Linked DNA regions of Homo sapiens: region 1 is linked to region 2. The links are contacts of gene promoters, found by promoter capture Hi-C in blood cells and fetal thymus (Javierre and others, 2016). All regions are on one chromosome and are shown on one strand. The core of a region is centred on a gene start or on the middle of the fragment in contact, and the rest is flanking DNA. Distances in the headings are between cores, read along the strand shown. Region 1 has its middle 55 kb from the start of NXNL2. Region 2 holds the start of SHC3 (SHC adaptor protein 3).

Region 1 (6,317 bases), core at 1,727-4,226, 590 kb after region 2:
AGAACCACGGTGCCCCACAAATCCCACCTGCCAAGAATCTGTCCCAGGCAGTGTCTCTAGAGCTTCTGGGCAGGTGGAGGAGGCTGCAGGGAGCTGCAAAGAAAAACCAACTTTCCATTTGGCATTTGCAAAGCCTTGACACAGAACCAGGTTTGTCTTTGTTTTTTGCTTGTTTTTTTGTTTCTTTGTTAGCTTTTGCACCTTTTTGTAGGTGCATTTTTTTTCAAAGGCAGAGAATTTCCTTGCTCATTCCCCTTGTCTGCCTGAAAGATGCAGATGGAATGTGTACCTGTATCCCCAGTGGAGATTCGTTCAGAGTCCTGAGCCTGCAGAATTACCTGCACTTGTTCCTGCTTCACGAAATCACAAGAATAAAAATGTTAGCAATCTCATCTTTGTCTGTGAATCAGTTACTCTGAGAGTGTCTTAGGCAAAGGCTTTTGGAATTCCCTTTTGCCCTAGAAGCCTGACCTGCAGAGGTGTGCACCCCACACTCACCATTGTTGCTCCTGCTGAGCTGCCTGCCCTGGGCTTGAACGACCAGAGGCTGAATGACCAGACAAATCAATAAGATCCAATGGGCCGAGGTGACACATAGCCCCCAGTGCCAGTCTACAGGCTCTGCACAGATGCCGATAGGTCATTTTTAATCATGATTTTCGATTTTTCAACCCCAGAATGCCTTATACACCCAAGTCTCACCGTGCGGATTCCCTTCTTTAGAAATTACAGCGCTGCATGGAAAGAGGCTGCCGGCAGGCTTGTGCTGCCTGGGTCAGCGTCCTCCATGTGCCACTGATCAGGGCTGAGAAGGCTTCGCAGAGCGCATCTCGGTGTCTTTCCAAAAGCCCAAAACTCTGTATTATGTGGCATCCTCAGACTGGTCTAGGAGAGCCCAGAGCTCCCCAGCTCCTCCTGAGATCAGCTTTTCGGGGGTTGAGAGGGAAAACACAACACTGAAACACGCACACAACTGACAATAATATCCTTCCTCTGCTGGCAGCCGAGTCCTGAGAATGAGTTTGAATAGTTTGGGAATGCCCCGGCCCACTGACCTTTCACCCAGCCGCAGATGGTAGACTTTTATTTTTATTTTTACCAACTCTTGCTCCTGCTCCTGATCCCTTAAGGTTTGAACTCTGTCCTACATGTTGTTCCCCTCTGTGTGCCCATTGCTGCAGGTTCATTATACAGGTAAACTCGTGCACAGGGGTTTGGTATACAGGTTATTTTGTCACCCAGGTACTAAGCATAGAACCCACCAGTGATTTTTTTGTAATCCAGCCCTAAACCTAAAATAAAAGTTGAAAAAAAAAACACAAAAAACTACCTATCAGGTACTATGCTCACTGCCTGGGTGATGATATCATGGTAGTACTCACCCCCAAACCTCAGCAACATGCAATTTATCCATGTAACAAACCCACATACATGCTCCCTGAACCTAAAAACATAAAATAAAATAAAAAAATAAAAGAACCCTGTCCTACATGGATAGAAATTATTTCAAAACATACCTCAAAAATGCCAGGACCTCATGCTCATTTGCCACTTGGTTAAGTCACAGTTATCCTATGTGACTGTTAGATGAGTTTCCTTCAAACGTGAGCCCTCTTCTTAACAGAGAGTTGTTCCTGACTTGGAAACTCTGCTTTTCAGTGGACCATAAGGTGCCCCTCACTCATTGCAAAGCGCAGGGAGGTTCTTGAGCTCTCCTGGCTGGAACACAGCAGGCAATTTCCTCCGTGAAGCTTAACTTTTATTTTATATAAAAACAGATAAATTGTATGTACAACATATAATTTTTAACTTACAACAAAGTATAGCTACATAATTTTATAGTGGGGTTTTGTGATGACACATTAGGTCAAAGTAAAGAGCACAAAGTTGAACTACAATGCCGCCAGTTGCAACGCTGCCCACACGAAGGGAGCTGGTCCACAGTCATATGTATGGCACGTTCGTGTCCTCACAGCAACGACACAGCTTCTGAGCTCCATCCTCTGCCTGGAACCAAGCAAGTCTATTTTGCTGCTAATAGTAAGGCCCATCTCAATTTCAGAATTTGTGTTAAAGAATGAAAGAATTCTGTGTTGAGACTCAACAAAATACTGTTGTCGAAATGTGCGCAGCTGCTGCAGGGTCCTCATTCACTGGCCTTGCCAGGAAGCCACAGAGTCGGCAGGCAGAAAACGATGCCCACATTGAGTGGAGAATTTCTGTTTCTAATGAAATCTTCCACGCAGTTGATGGCCTGCATACCCTGGCCTATTTTCCACAGCAAACAGAGTCCTTCCAAAAGATTCATCAACTTAGCAGCATGCATTACATATACACACGATAGACCCTTTCCCCCTCCATTACTGCCTCTCAGCTGACTGCATTTGGCCTGAGACAACTTCATGGCTAGAAAAATCAATAGTGTGGAGGGCAGCCACGCCTTGCCAGTGGATCCATTATCTGTCTCTTTCCTATCTCCATTAATAGAGGGAAATGTTTTCTTAGTGTTATGCGAATTAGAGAAAGAAGCAGTGTCTGCCACAGAATATTGTATTTGTTGAAATTGCCTCTTTGGTGGAAATTTGCCATAAAGTATGTCTGACCAAAGGCTAAAATCACCCAATATTCCTGATTCACTTTCCCTCTTCCTGCTCCCAAGAGAGCATCGGCATTGGAGGTGCATGCTCTCCAGGGGACATGGATGAGAGTGAGGCAGGATATTTTCTTGACCCTTTTGCAGGACTCACGAGAAGGGTGCCCCTTTTACTCAGCTGACCATGCTCAACCCCTCGCAGGAGGGAGCACATGAGCGAACCAGTGCAGGAACCAGCCCGCCAATTCTGGCTTCTGTGCAGACAAGAGCAAACTCGGTTTACTCCAGCCCACCACACTCCATTTCTTGCCAGAGGGAGCGAGTAGGCAAGCCAATGCAGGAACCAGCTGGCCATTTTGGCGCCAGCAGAGAAAACTCAGTGCAGGCCCTGCGTCAGCATCCAGGTGGGGGCGCCTGCGATCCCAAGGCCCCAGAGGGCATGTTGCAATACTTAGTTCTACTGTCCACAGACAGCAGTGTGTTATCAGCTCAGTGGGCCTTTTGTCTCGCTGCGTGGGGCAGCTGCCCTCCACCAGTGAGGGCAAAGGGCCAGTGTGACAGCCTTTTTGGTACCCACATTTGGTAGGTCTTGAATTCTTGTCCAGTTCCAAGAAGAATGCGGTCACATGAACAAATTGAAGGATGATGAATGTGGAAATTTTATTGAGTGATGAGAGTGGCTCTCAGCAGAGAGTGGAACTGGAAAGGGGATGGAAAGGACAGGTCACTCTCCCCTGAAGTCAAGCAGCCTCTCTGCCTCCCTCCTCTGAAATCAAGTTGCCTCTCTCTGAAGTACAGCTGCTTCTCTCTACCAGCTAAATCTGGGGTCCTTATAAGCACAGGATGGGGGGTGGGGCAGGCCATAAGTAGTTTTGGAAAAGGCAACATTCAAATGGAAAAAACACATTACTCAGAAAAAACTAATAGGGAGAGAGTAGGCAAAGAGGGACGGAAGTTCTCACTTTAAGCCGTGGGTGTCAGGCTTTTTGGCTTGAAAGTGGGGCTTCACCAGGGACCAACTCCTGTCTGTCTAGAGTTTCTCTGCCTCCTGCCTCTATCAAGAGGAAATAGTAAAAATAAGTGAGGTGACAGCCATGCCCTATTCCAAGTGTCAATGTACAGTGGGGCACAGGCAAGGCAGTGGGGCCAGTGGCTCCCTGCTGGGCCTTGTCCTCAGATGGGCACAGTGGGTGGCTCGCAAGAAATTTGAGAGGTCTTCCCCACTGCCTTGCATTGATTCTGGAGCCTGTGTGTGCCAGCCCTCTGATCCCTGCAGGGCCACCCTCCCTGAAAGCATCTAGAACAGGGGTGATGCTGGGGTTGCCCCACACCACGCTCAGCCCTGCCCTCAGCCAGGCTCACCCCAGGGGGACAGGGTATGTGAGAGGCGTGTCTACACACCCCTACACAAGGCCAGGCCAGTGGGGACTTCTGGAGGCATCACAGGTGTGCATGTGGCAAGGGGCACATTTAAAGCTGGTTTCTAGTTCCTGCAGAGAAGAGGAAACTGGAGCCTCTCCCCTGTACCCTGTGTGTGCACAGCCCCATTTTCAACCTTGCTTACCAACCTTGGCACCATCCCTGGGAACGTTCCAGTTTTTAAGCTTCTCTGCTCCTCTGTTTAACTCTGGCCCTCTTGTCACACCAGAGCAAATCCTGGGACACAAAAGTATCCTAGCAGGACATGGGGTCAACAGAAAAGGCTACGGAGTGGTAGAACAAACTAAGATTTGGAGCCCAAGTTCAGTTTCCCTTGAGGTTTCTCCATGGAACCAAGTGAAAATGATACCCCCCACCCCTCCGCTCACACTGTTCCAGCGTGGACACACACACCACAATCTGCCATGAGCAAAGGAGAATTCTGGGCAGCACAAGCTATTGTGGCTAAATCCAGAATTAGGGTCCATTTTCCCCTTGCCCACAGCTGGTTGCCTTCTCTGCTCATGCATAGAGCAGACACTGAGGCCCAGGGCACCCTGCCCCACAGCCCAGCAGGGCAGACAGAGGCAGATCAAATCTCTCTTTCCTTTGTGTGATGTTCTTGGGTATCTTTTCCCACTATTTTCTGTGGGCAGAAAAGGGATGGTATAGAAATGTGTCATCTCCCACCCACAAGACCTCCACAGTCAGGAGAGAGGTAAGGATTGTTCTGCCAGCTCCTATTCACTTTATTCATTATTGAAGACTTTAAAGACGAGGTAATGAGACAACCTGGACCCTGTTGAAGTATATCAATAGTAGAATTTTTAAAAACAGAGCATGGCCCCTCTGCACGAAATCCACAAGTTTCTGTGTGTCTGCGTAGCTGTTGGGAGAGAACAGGCAGGACTGACACCACTCCTGCCGTTCCACCAACCAACCTCCCTGGCAGGGCCTTGCCTTTGGGGAAGCTCAGCCCATGAGTGGTATTAGTTCCTGTCTTCATCCATTTGGGTGGCTATAATGGAATACCATAAACTAGGTGGCTTATAAACAACAAAAAATTATTTCTCACAGTTCTACAGGCTGGGAAGTCCAAGATCAAGGCACCAGAAGACGTGTTGTCTGGCCAGGTGAAGGCTCCTTCCTCAGAGACAGCGCCTTCTCGCTATGTGGTAGAAGAGGTGAGGCAGCTCTCTGGGGTCTCTTTCAGGAAGGCACTAGTCCCATTCACGAGAGCTCCACCCTCATGACCTCATCCCCTCCCACAGGCCCCACCTCTTACTGACATCACACTGGAGAGTCAGTTTCAGCACAGGAATCTCAAGGGACACAAACATTCAGGCCATAACAGTTCCTTTCCCATGATCTTTAGTGCATTGACCACTGAAGATCACCAAACTAATCATCTCCATATGTACCCTACCTCCAACTGTCTCTATCTTCTCTTGCCCCTCCCCGCAACCCCATTTCCTGCCTGCATAGGAGAGACCTGCTCAGCAGCCTGGAATCTATATGGAAACATCTTCACAGACACAACACATCTAGCAAGAGCAAGGGCTGCAGCCATGGAGGACCCTTCAGAGTCCCTCAAGGCTGTGTTTGGCCTGGGACATTCCACAGGCACGATGAGCATGAAGAAGAGGTTCTGAGAGGACCTTGTGTGCCACCCTGACCTCATGCACACCCTGCTGGATGACCACAAAAAAGGAACAGATCCCACCACCTACACCTGGGGAACCCTGAGACCAGCCCTCCCTGCACACCCAGGGACGCTCCAGACCAGGTCCTGACCCACGCACGGGGATATGGGGACCAGAGGCCCACCCACACACTCAGGGACATAGGAACCAGAGCCAACTGTCCTTGTCCTCTTCTACCATGTACCTCAGGAGCTTAAGGCAGTGGCTTATGTGCCTGGAAAAGCAGAAGATTGCAGAAATCGTGTTTTGGAGGGAAATGAACTTGCAGGGGTTTTTTGGTGACAGGAAATGCTGTTCCCTGCCTGGATCTTAAATTTGTTTGCGAAGCATCTTTCTGAAGGTGGTCTGTCTTTCAAGGGTCAGAGCTTTGTTTTCCAAATTCAAAATTATAATTGATTTTCATGCTATCACACAGGCCAAGTTTTATTCTCCTTCCCTCCCTCCCTTCAGCAGTGGGCTGAGACCTGATGCCAGCCTGGTGCCTGGGCTCCATCACTGGGCAGAAAGGACCCAAGAGGGTGTTTGAGAGAGTTAGAATGCAACCAGGAGCACATCCTCATGCCCACCCTTCCTCTGCTGCTCCTTAATTTCCTTGTCTTGGC
Region 2 (6,653 bases), core at 3,458-5,957:
TGGGGATGCTCCTCATCCTCATGGCTAACATTCAGCTCAACCCAATGGTCCAAGTTAGAAACGTGGGCTTTGCTTGGCATTCCTTTCTTTGGGAGAGGCTGGGCTGCAGGGTGCCATGGGCACACAGCCTTCACATCAACTTTTTCTGGGGGTGCTCAGCTGTGGGGTGCCACCTGCTGGAGGCTGTTCCTCCCTGGGCAGCCCACACTAAAGAGGTGAATGTGGGAGAGAGTGAGGGAGTGCGTGAGAGTGAATGAGGAGCCCTGCAGGCCAGGGGATACTCTCTGTGGATGGCACTCTTTCTCCAGAACTCTTGGAAGGACGAGGTGTGTGGGGCCTGGGTCACAGCCCACTTCTGCCTCTGCTCCCTCCTGCAGCCTCCCCTGCTTTCTGTGGAGCTTGATCTCTAATAAGCATCTTGCATTCCAAACTCTGTCTTAGCTTCTAGCTGCAGACAGCCTACCCAGCCTCGCTCTCTCTTACACTTCCTCATCACAGAGACAGATCCTTTACCTTCCCAGCTATCTTGAATCCATCCCTCTCTTTCCAGCTCCACTGCTCTTGCTTTCATTCAAGCCCTTGTTCTTTTTAACTTGTCCTGTTGTCTCCTACCTCCTCTCAACTTCCCAGAGCCACCCCAAGTCACTATCAAAGTGGTCTCCATAAAAGGCAAACCTGACTATGTGACCCTCTCTCAAGCCCCTTGTGTCCATTTGTTCTTGCATTGCTAAGAAGGAATGCCAGAGGGTAATTTATAAAGAAAAGAGGTTTAATTGGCTCATGGTTCTGCAGACTGTACAGGAAGTATGGTGTTGGCATCTGCTTGGCTTCTGGTGAGGGCCTTAATTGTGGCAGGAGGTGAAGGCGGAGCAGGAGTGTCACATGGCATGAGCAGAAGCAATAAAGAGAGTGAGAGGGGAGGCGCCACATTTATTTTATTTTATTTTATTTTATTTTATTTTATTTTATTTTATTTTATTTTATTTTATTTTATTTTATTTTTATTGTTTTTGAGACAAAGTCTTGCTCTTTTCGCCCAGTCTGGAATGCGATGGTGCGATCTCGGCTCACTGCAAACTCCTCGTCCCGGGTTCAAGCGATTCTCCTGCCTCAGCCCCCCGAGTAGCTGTGATTACAGGGGCCTGCCACCATGCCCGGCTAGTTTTGGTATTTTTAGTAGAGATGGGGTTTCACCTGTTGGCCAGGCTGGTCTCGAACTCCCGACCTCAGGTGATCCATCACCTCGGCCTCCCAAAGTGCTGGGATTACAGGCATGAGCCACCACACCAGGCCGCCATATTCTTTTATCCAAGCAAATCTCATGTAAGCTCAGAGCAAGAACTCACTTATCACCAAGGGAATGGTGCTAAGCTATTCATGAGGGATCCACCCCCATGATTCAGTCACCTCCCACCAGGCCCCACCTCCAACACTGAGGGTCACATTTCAACATGAGATTTGGAGGGGACACACATCCAAACCTCATCACCCCTCTAAGCCTTTATGAGTGCCCAGCCTCCTGACCTCCTCACCAACCCAACCAACCTACCAGGGATTCTGGGAGACTCTGGACTGCTCAGGCCTGGAGCCCTTGCCCACACAGTTTCCTCCTGTGAAGTCACCTGGAGGATGCCTCCACTGGGGTCAGGGGTCACCTCCGCATCCTCAGGACAAGCTCACTCCTTTGGTCAAGTTTTTGTATCTCACACATATTACAAAATTCACATAGTCTTAACTAGGTTATAACATTAATTTCAGATCTTCTGCCTTCCAGAAGGCAAAACCACTTTCCCCAGGGCCCAGCTCATGGCACCTTCTCAGAAATTTGTGGATTCTCCCTCAGAGCCTCCAGAGGAACCAGCTCGGCCCACACCCATGCTGGATCCCAGCATGACCCATTTGGACTTCTTACCTACAAACTGGAAGATAATAAATTGTGTTATTCTAAGCCATTGATTTTGTGGTCATTTGTTACGGCAGCCATAGAAAGCAAATACGTGTTTAAGCATTGATTTAAAAAAGAAAAACCACAACATACTGGAAAGGCTCTCATTGTAAATTGCCCCAGACTGCCTGGCTTTGGTGAATCTCAAGGCTGACTTTAAAATGGAGTTTTTTTTTCCTGCTTCCTTCCATGGCTATCAAGCAAGCCAGCAACAGAAAATTTCATTTACATTTAGCATTTTCTGTCCCAGTGGTCTCCTCTCTCATCTGTCTCTATGTTGATCAAGAAGATATGTGGGCTTTCTGGTACAGGGTCTAAAATAAACATGAACAGCTCCCCAGAAAGGGCAAAGGGTTTTCTCATGAGTAGGGTGTGTGAGCTTCTGTGTGGGCTGCACAGCCTCCTTTTGATGCTGAGAGGCCTTCGGGTTTTTCTTTTTCCATCTTTCTGCTACGTTCCAAAATGTTGATACTATTTTCCAGGTAAGTGAGGTTTTACCGTACTACTGTGTTCTTGGAATATTAATTTCTGTCTTTGATTATATATCTTTTCATATATAGTAAATTTATGTTGCTATTTATATTTTAAAATGACCAATTTCCCTCCACTGGCCTCATAATAAAAGAAATAAAAGTCTCCTGTTGGCTAAACGTTAAGTACATAGCTTTGGATTTTTTTTCCTCCCTGGAGCCTCAGAACGTGTACAGGTGTCCTACATGCCTTTTACAAAAAAAGAATCAAGGGCTAGGAACCTAGGTTTTGAACGTGCATTCAATGTACATTCATAATAAAAGCTGAACGACTGGCACATTCATGGTTGCTCCTTGATGTAAATGAACGGCTGAATGAAAGTTTAGGGGCACAGCTCACCTCCAAGAGAGACCCTCTTCACACTTAGACCTGACCAAGGGATCTTGAATTCCCTTGTAAAACTAGCTTTTCCTCTCCATAGCAGCTGGCCTCTTCCTCCCGGTATCTTTGTAATCCGGCTGGGTGTTTTTTTTTCTTTTTCTTTTTTTTTTTCCCACACTGCCGTTGGATAAAAGATCCCGCCTTTGATTGAAATGGAATCTTCCACTATTGAGCAAGCCTTTGTTGAATGAGTCATCGGGGCGGCCGCTCATTGGCTGAGGCCGCTGGAGCCCAGGGGATTGCCTGGCACCGGCTGCAAGGCCCTGCTTCATTCACAGAAACGCTGGCTCGCTCGCTAGCCTTTTCATTCACACAAACAGCATTTCATTCACATTTTGCGGTTTTTGTCTGCATCTAATGAAGATCTCGCTTTGGGAATGATAGGGCTGTTTCGCTACAGATCTGGGGAGGACTCTGATAACCATCAAAATCATCTATGGGGTGTGCAATTGCTGTTGCTATGCAAGCTAGGGAAAGGGAACAAATGAGTGCCGTGTAGCTGTTCTGCTAGGGCTGCGGCACAGGAGGCGAGCCGTGGGGACGCGTTTCCTGTACCGGGGACGCCGCGGCTCCTCTGCGCTCTTGCGTCCTAGGGGTTGGCCTCACCCGCTCGCCCGCCATGAGTGGCGCTCATTAAACTCTGCTCCATAGAGCAGGGTTCAAGACTCAGGACCTCACGTGCCCCACATGTTCGGTCATGGGAGTGAGAGGACTCAGGGTGACCTGAGAGTGTGCTAGAGCTGAATTTATTCGCTTGCTCAGAAGTTGCGGGAAAACTTTGATAGTGAGTGTTTCACTGTGGAGCAGGTGATCCTAATGCATGAGGAAGCCTGGCAGAGCCCACTGAGGTCAAGAGTCAGAGGGCTTCAGTCTCGGGCAGACCTCTGGGGACAGCGAAAGCCTTGCTCTCCTAACTGAGAGGAAGAAGGCCTGTGCATTTTACTTGCAAGCCCGAGCCTGACTCCTGAAAAGAAGGCATATTTTCCTCCTTGTGGATTTGATGTGCAATAAGAACAGCTGCATTTTTTCCTTCCTGACTGCAGGGTTGCAAGCAGCAACTGAAGGAACATTGAAATGTATTTGTAGCATTTCTTAGGCGTTTTTCCAGAGCTTAAACACATTCAGTAGGATTAAAGCTTCAAATGCAGCCCCTTTTTTGGAATGGATTTCTGGAGCCTGTTGCCACTCGTGAAAGAAGCACTCTTCTTTTTTGGAAGTGGATATTCAACTTAACCCTGGCTGAGAAAGACTGCTGTAAATGAGCAGGGAAGACCCCTTGATTGGCACTGTGCAGAAGTTCATATGCAGATTTTTTTTTTTTTTTTTTTTTGAGGAACTGCATTGCCACAAAGACACTTGTCATCGCTGCTCTGTTAATTTGAAAAGAAAAAGCAAAACCCAGGAAATTGGTATTTTACAGTCACCTGGGGGTGAATATCCTTTTTGTTTTTTTCTATTTAAAAATTCCTGCTGCCTTCCAAGTCAAGATTCATCAGGATTCGCTGAAGATCTGATTCTTAAAAAGCCTTCGTCACATTTTAACGCATCGCTGTTAGACACTTTTACAGGCTCACACAGATGGGCTGAGCAGGGACGAGCAAAACCTAACAGAATAATGGGTTTCAGAAAGTTCATTTGACGATTTGAAGGAACTGGATTGGATTTACCTTTGGCACAAATGCAGATTGCGGGGGATGGGAAGGTGAAAAATCAAAGGTTGGAAGGAAATATCTGGGAAGGTAGAAAAAGGAAATTTGAGAATTGATTGGCTATAGTGTGCTGTCAGCGGGTGGATGTCGTTTTTTTCTTCTTTTTTTCCTTTTTTTTCTTCTGCTACAGGAAGTGATTTGCAGTGCTCACCGAGCCTTTGTTGAGAAGGGTCTCCTCTCAGAGTGAGTCATGCTTTTGCTGTGAGCAGCCCCAAGCAGCTGGGCGCTCCATCAGAGGCAACTATGACTTTTGCAAAGCAAACGTGCAACCCCAAGCAGCGGTCTCCCGGGCCGGGGCTGCGCGGCCGCCGCTGTGCTGGCTTTTAACGGTGGGAGGGCACCATCCTCTTGCTCTGCTCTCGTTCTCCAGAAGGCTGTCCCGGGGCCCCCACTCTCCGTCCCGCTCCGGGGACAGTGGCTCGCCTGCTATGCGCGGCAGCCCGCGCCGGGGCCGGCACCAGCAGCGCCCGGGCGGATGCAGCGAGCCCACGGAGGGGCATGCTTCCACGCACCAAGTATAACCGCTTCAGGAATGACTCGGTGACATCGGTCGATGACCTTCTCCACAGCCTGTCGGTGAGCGGCGGCGGAGGCAAGGTTTCGGCGGCGCGCGCGACCCCGGCGGCGGCTCCCTACTTGGTGTCCGGCGAGGCGCTGCGCAAGGCGCCCGACGATGGGCCCGGCAGCCTGGGCCACCTGCTCCACAAGGTGTCCCACCTGAAACTCTCCAGCTCGGGCCTCCGCGGCCTGTCGTCGGCCGCCCGGGAGCGGGCGGGCGCGCGGCTCTCGGGCAGCTGCAGCGCGCCCAGCCTGGCCGCCCCGGACGGCAGTGCGCCCTCGGCGCCCCGCGCCCCGGCCATGAGCGCCGCCAGGAAGGGCCGGCCCGGCGACGAGCCGCTGCCCAGGCCCCCTCGGGGGGCGCCGCACGCCAGCGACCAGGTGCTGGGGCCCGGAGTCACCTACGTGGTCAAGGTGGGTGCGGGCGCGGGCCGCCCTGGGGGCTGGGGGTTCTGGGGCCAGTTCGGGGCAGACTCCTTCATTCCCTGAAGCCCGGGGTGCGGGGCGCTCCCGCGACTGTCACGTTAGAGGCAAGCAAATGCGCACTCCTTAGCAATCAGCTCGCTTGACAGCGGTGAGGAGGGAACTACAAATGCGCTTTTCCCGCATCCATTGGGAAAAGGTTTACCACTCGGGTGGCCCGCTCCGTCCCGGTTTTCCCTAGGCTCCACTTTTTTGGCACGCCTTTGCCACCTGGCTTACCAGATGTCTGACCAGTGTCATGGGCGCCCAACCCTGGGCAGCGGGGGTCCGGCCTGCCTAGTATCTAGGAAACGCGCTGGGGAGAGCTGGGCAGCCCCCGGGAGGAGAGATGCACGGAGTGGCGGCCCTACTCCTGCTGTGTCTTCCCCGGCGGGAGGGTGGGTATCTTGTTGCCCCCCGCAGCAAGAATTCCCAGCTCCTTGCAGAGCAGGCCAAATGCTGTGCTGCTTTCTCTTCGACGGGCTTTACTTTCTCACCCAGTCCAGGTTTTCTTGGGGTTTGTCTTTCATTCCCTAAGGAAAGGTTCTGGTTTACAGCAGCGGAATGAGAATTCTGGGACTATTTTTCTGGTGACTGTAGTCTTCCATTTAAATGTGCTAAAAGGGAACTAGGGCGCTGCGCTTGGAGCCACAGGCTGGAAAGGAGTTTTTTCCTCCAACACAAAGATGATAAAATCACGATGTAGTCAATAAAATTCCACCCTTATGCAAGCATGTTATGATATTTAAGGAAAAATGCTCAGCACAGTTCAAGTAATCTGCCACGCGGTTATTTCCTTCTGCCGGTTGGGCAGCTCAGAGCTTTAACAGCCTCCACAGCCGAGCAGACAGGGGTTAAGGATGGAAGTTGCAGTATTTCAATCCTGCCACTCCAAGGCATGGCTTTGTATTGAGAAAGAAATGAGACACAAACTCTATCCCCACCGTGTCCTCAATAACACTGAGAAACCCCCAGGATGTCTGTTCCGTAAATATTGGCTGCAGATTCCAGTGTAAAAATTAAATAGAACACATCCTCAGGTAAAATGCAGTGTCTGGTAATTTCGG

What was found. Contacts are between HindIII fragments. The CHiCAGO score rates a contact against its expected background, and 5 or more counts as called.
Region 1: a contact is called between a fragment that was not itself captured here and the fragment with the promoter of SHC3 in region 2, in 2 of 17 cell types (M1 macrophages and endothelial precursors). The highest score is 5.9, in M1 macrophages.

The regions. Positions count from the first base shown.
Region 1 is chr9:88,587,459-88,593,775 of GRCh38, reverse strand. No RefSeq gene overlaps it. Among named protein-coding and RNA genes, the nearest start is that of NXNL2, 55 kb to the right of the region's middle. RefSeq lists an enhancer at 3,873-4,378. The HindIII fragment of the contact is 2,446 bases long and covers 1,754-4,199 here.
Region 2 is chr9:89,176,872-89,183,524 of GRCh38, reverse strand. It overlaps SHC3 (SHC adaptor protein 3), which reads left to right and starts at 4,707. Exons shown (of 12, transcript NM_016848.6): 1 at 4,707-5,538. The coding sequence starts at 5,065. The HindIII fragment of the contact is 3,060 bases long and covers 3,996-6,653 here.